Linked DNA regions of Homo sapiens: region 1 is linked to region 2. The links are contacts of gene promoters, found by promoter capture Hi-C in human tissues and cell types (Jung and others, 2019). All regions are on one chromosome and are shown on one strand. The core of a region is centred on a gene start or on the middle of the fragment in contact, and the rest is flanking DNA. Distances in the headings are between cores, read along the strand shown.

Region 1 (2,700 bases), core at 26-2,525, 64 kb after region 2:
AGGCATTAACCAGTTTTGTATCTATCTATAAATTTTATTCTAATAAAATTTTAAGTGTCTTTCCTAATAAAATATGTAAATTCCTGCTCTTCAAGTGCTCTTTTCACCAGCTTGACCATTTTACTGCTTCCTTTAGTTAATAAAACTTGATGTTTATTCTATATTTGTATGACAGTCATAATCTTAACTTTTTCAAAATTATATTTTAACATGGAAGACATAGCAGTAGGGGCTTGTGGACATTCTTTTCTGACTGCTTCTATTTTCTCAGTGAATAAGGGTGAAAAGTCATGAACTGAGAGTGAGAATAGGGAGAAGCTTTGGGGGAAGTTGAGGGCAGTGAAGAAGATATTACAAAAAGACTTTTAGAGCCTGGCCAACATGGCGAAACCCCATCTCTACTAAAAATACAAAAATTGGCTGGGCACGGTGGCTCACACCTGTAATCCCAGCACTTTGGGAGGCCGAGGCGGGTGGATCACGAGGTCAGGAGATCGAGACCATCCTCACTAACATGGTGAAACCCCGTCTCTACTGAAAAAATACAAAAGATTAGCCAGGCATGGTGGCGGGCGCCTGTAGTCCCAGCTACTCGGGAGGCTGAGGCAGGAGAATCACTTGAACCCGGGAGGCGGAGGTTGCGGTGAGCCGAGATCATGCCATTGCACTCCAGCCTGGGGCAACAAGAGGGAGACTCCATCACAAAACAGAAACAAAAACAAAAATTAGTCAAGTGTGGTAGGCCTCTGTAATCCCAGCCACTTGGGGAGGCTGAGGCAGGAGAATTCCTTGAACCCGGGAGGTGGAGGTTGCAGTGAGCCAAGATTGCAGCACCACTGCACTCCAGCCTGGGTAGCAGAGCCAGACCCTATCTTAAAAAAAAAAAAAAAAAAAAAGACTTTCAGGAGAGTGGGAAAGTGAAAAATTAAGGGAAATTCCGGATGACTGCTGAGCAATATAAACCCGCTGGAGGTTAGTAGTCATGAACTTTAAATGGAACTCTCGGCATACCACAGCCATGCCTGCAGGCATGGAGTAGGCAGAGTTAGATTTAATCAGGTTATTCGGTTTTGCTAAGTGAGCACAAACAAGAAAATAAAGCATGAGAGTTGGTAGGTGTAAGCTACGGTGGAAGCTATGGAAGGAGACCTGAGGATGTAGCGGAATAGAGGACAGTGCACACGTGGGCGTGTCAATGTCTTGTAAGTCCCAGTTAGGTAGAAGGGTTGTGGGTACTGGTTTCGTAGAGCTAAAAAGTGGGAGGTTGTGGTTGGACGGTGGGATGCTTAAAATTGAAATCATGAAGGGAGGGGGCGTGGGGAGGGGATACTCATTTTATTTTTGAGAGAGGGTTTCACTCTTGCCCAGGCTGGAGTGCAGTGGCACCAACATGGCTAACTTGAGCTCTTGGGCTCAAGCGATCCTCCCACCTCAGCCTCCCCAGTAGCTGGGACTACAGGCATGTACCACCACACCATGCTAATTTTAAATTTTTTTGTAGGGACAGGGTCTCACTATGTCGTCCAAGCTGGTCTTGAATTCCTGGACTCAAGCGATCTTCCTGCTTCTGCCTCCCAAAGTGGCCTATAATTTTATTTGAACAGTAACTCAAACTGGTACTGAAACTAGAGTTCAGTCCCAATTTGTCTAAACAAAAGAAAGTGAAGGGTCAAGAAAAAGGGTTAAATTATGAAGCAAGATCCCAGAGACTGTGAGCAGGAATACAGAACTGGGGCACAGGTGGATAGGACTAGTATTAATAAAATCAGGGACGGGGAGCCCTACAGAGATAGAAGACAGGATAAAAGCAGGAAGGGGAGCCGGGTGCGGTGACTTACGCCTGTAATCCCAGCAGTTTGGGAGGCCGAGGCAGGCGGATCACCTGAGGTCGGGATTTCGAGACCAGCCTGACCAACACGGAGAAACCCCGTCTCTACTAAAAATACCAAATTAGCCGGGCGTGGTGGCGCATGCCTGTAATCCCAGCTACTCGGGAGGCTGAGGCAGGAGAATCGCTTGAACCCGGGAGCTGGAGGTTGCGGTGAGCCAAGATCATGCCATTGCACTCTAGCCTGGGCAACAAGAGTGAAACTCCATCTCAAGAAGAGAAAAGAAAAAATTAGCCGAGTGTCGTGGTGCACGCCTGTAATCCCAGCTACTCAGGAGGCTGAGGCAGAGAATCACTTGAACTTGGGAAGTGGAAGCTGCATCATTGAACCGAGATCATGCCACTGCACTCCAGCCTGGGCAACAGAGCGAGGCTCCATCTAAACAAAAAAAAAAAAAAAAAAAAAAAACGGGAAATGAATTGTCAAATGAGGATATATATAGGGTGAGGTATGGAAGGCTCCTGAGTGCAGCAGCTTCTGTCCTTTGAGTGTAGTGGAGCTGGGGTGCACAACCCTCCTGCAAGTGGATATGTTCTTGTTTACCAGTTTGGAACTCTGGGAACCCGGTAGTTTAGGGATTTTTATGGAGGCTTCATCACGTAGGCATGATCAGTTTTTAACTCAATCCCTAGTCCTTCTCCCCTCCCTGGAGGATGGGGGATGTGGCTAAATTTTCAAGCTTCTAGTCATGACTTTGTCTTTCTGGTGACCAGACCCTATCCTGAAGCTATCCAGCAAGACACCAAGAGACCCTCATTAGTACAAAAGATGCTCCCATCACCCAGGAAGTTCCAAGGATTTAGGAGCTCTG
Region 2 (2,700 bases), core at 158-2,657:
CACACACACAAAAGTTCCTAAGTTAGAAACAAGCATCACATGAAAAGGTACCAAAGAATAAAAGCCCAGTGGAAGGATAATGAAATATTTATTTAAAACAACAAAATAGTATTTTCATCCTGAGATTCTCTACCCATCACATAATATTCATATTCTTTGCATCCAATAGAGGTTTTCTTCTCTGTGGTCTTTAGGGCTACCACTTTCATTGTCTATTCGCTGATGTGGTGGGGGCGGGGCGGGGGGGCGGCGGGGAAGGGCGTTTCCCTGGGTCCTGACCATCAGGGTACCCTGGGGCTCACAAAGTGGGCTTTCTCCCTCGCTGAACGTGCAGTCCAGACAGACAGACAGACACACACACACACACACACACACTTCAGTCGGTCAGGGCAGGGCGTCCCACAGACACACACACACACACACACACACACACACACACACTTCAGTCGGTCAGGGCAGGGCGTCCCCAGACCAGACATTAAAGAGCTTGTGAAGTGAATTATGATTTTGCTCAAGAAAAAAAAAAGTCATCTAACTTATAATAGTGAAGAAAACCCTTTTGGAGCCTACAGTTCCGCAATGATGAAAGGTTTTTTTGTTTTTTTTTCAGTCAGCTCCTGACAGAAGAGGTTCAGTGAGGGCGAACCCCGCCCAGTGGCTCCAACGCCATAGAAGCCAGAAACAAACAACCCCGCCCCTGCGCCGCCCTGACACCCGCTGCCGGGGGCTCCGGCAGAAACTCACCATGTTTTCCCGGGAATGTGTGGGTATCTTTCCAAAACGCCAAAGACCGCGGAGGGTCTTCCCACGCTAACCCTAGGCTGCGCTTTGTTCCCGTTCCCCCTCCCACGTCCCCCAGCTCGCCCAACGCCCCCGCTCTTTTTGGGTGCCTCCTCCTCTCCCGGTCCCCAGAGAACAACGCGAGACAGAAAGTGGCCCCTCAGCATCAGCGAAACCGTGCGCACAGACACGGGGCCCAGCCGGGACGCCCCAGACCCCTCGGTCGCGGCAGACGGGCTGCCCGCGGCCCCCGAAAGTCTCTCGGATAACACAGGCGCCTAGGCGCCGCCTTTGTTCCTCCCCAGCGCTCTGCTGCGCCCTGGGCGCAGTACTGGCCCGGTTCCTGCACCCGCACTGCGGCGGCGGCGGGGCTTGAGGATTTGGGGCTAAGCTAAACCTCACAAAACATACCACCACCCTCGCCCAGAGAGCTTACGAAAGAAAAGAGCTTAAAGGTTTTCCAAGTAGAGCCTGGGGGCGCTGACTCCACCCAACGGCCACAAAGAGCCGAAGCCGATTCTCACCATGGTTGCTGCTTCGCGACTGCCGAGCTGATGGCGGAGACGAAGAGGAGAGGTTGTTGCTTCTTACAGCGCGACTCTTAGGCGGTCGATGTAAGAGAACCTGCGGCACATAGGCGGATGCGGCTCCCTATATACAACTCGGTCACCATGGGGATGGGCCGGGGCCTTTTCCTGTTGGTCCAGACCCCCAATCTGCCCAGAGAAGCCATGACAGGAGACTGGTGATTGGTGCAAGCGACGTGGGATGAGGTAATCTCTCCCCCACCCCTTTTTCTCTAGCATCCGTAGACTGTTTGCATCCTTTAGACAAAGAGACCGTGCAGAAGCAGTCGGCCGAGCATCCATTATGGGGCGGGGTTGGGGAGGGGCGGAAGGAGAAGAAAGGGGACTGGGGTTAGAAGACTTTCTGTTGCTTAAACCTCAAACTGCAGTTAAAATTATCTATGTGAGGTTTTTTCCCCCTACCCTTAATAACAATTTATGTTTAGATTAAATATTTAAAGGAAAATGACTGCCAGCCCCTCCCTCGTAGTATATTAAACTCGACTACATTTTGTTAGGGTTCAACATCTCTAATTGCTTTAAACGTAAAGTGGGAGGGAAAATCGGCATGATGCTCGAAATGGCCTGGGTATATGTGATTTTTTTAATTTAAAAAAAGATTTAGCCATACGGTCATTCCAAATGGTTTCTCAGGTTCAACTAACTTATTTTCAGAGCTTCTTCTGCAGGCACACGCACACCCGAATAGCTAAACAAAACTGGAAGATGGAAAGAATAACCATATTAAATAAAGAAGCGAACAAATAGTTCTAACATGGCAATAATCAAGAGCAAGTGAACGTAGAGTAGTTATAATGGTTTACTAGAGGTATTCTTTTATGAGAAGTCTATGTAACACATTTTGTATGGTACATTGTCCTTTGGAATGAATCATCTTTCCTGATAGAAAATTGGGAAAATACAAGGAGAAATAATTGAGCTCAGAAGTTAGTACTACATGTGTGCAGTTACATATCTGAATTGGACTTTTGTCTGGAAAGTAACAAGCAAAATAATAGTAATAACCAATACACCAAATTAAAAAGAAGAAGAGAATAATATAATGTAAAAAGAATTTTGCAATGTCGCCTCCATCCACAGACAACTGTGAAACATCAGCTCAATAAACGCATTTCCTTTTTATGTAGTTCTTATGTCAATTTGGTAAATATCCTCCTGCGAGTGGGCTTCTAACTGTGGGAATTTTAGCCGGCCTCACACCCTTGCTGTTCAGCTAGAGACTCTGGTGGTTGCTCAGTTGTCCCTTGGGACAAAAAGGCTTTGCTTTCACCCCTAGGAAATAAATTGGAGTAAAATTATCTTGATATTTAGGAAGCCTCCATTCTCAGCAACG

Evidence for each region. The method cuts DNA at HindIII sites, captures the fragments that hold promoters and counts their contacts. A contact is called where the count stands out against the background at its distance.
Region 1: a fragment that was not itself captured here is called in contact with the fragment with the promoter of TUBA1A in region 2 in 4 of the 25 tissues and cell types used here (bladder, heart right ventricle, mesenchymal stem cells and 1 more).

What each region holds. Positions count from the first base shown.
Region 1 is chr12:49,252,212-49,254,911 of GRCh38, forward strand. It overlaps a transcript of TUBA1C not described here. Among named protein-coding and RNA genes, the nearest start is that of TUBA1C, 12 kb to the right of the region's middle. The HindIII fragment of the contact is 5,325 bases long and covers 1-2,700 here.
Region 2 is chr12:49,187,673-49,190,372 of GRCh38, forward strand. TUBA1A (tubulin alpha 1a) reads right to left here and starts at 1,408. Exons shown (of 4, transcript NM_006009.4): 1 at 1,305-1,408. The coding sequence starts at 1,307. RefSeq lists enhancers at 1,087-1,678, 1,177-1,296. The HindIII fragment of the contact is 17,236 bases long and covers 1-2,700 here.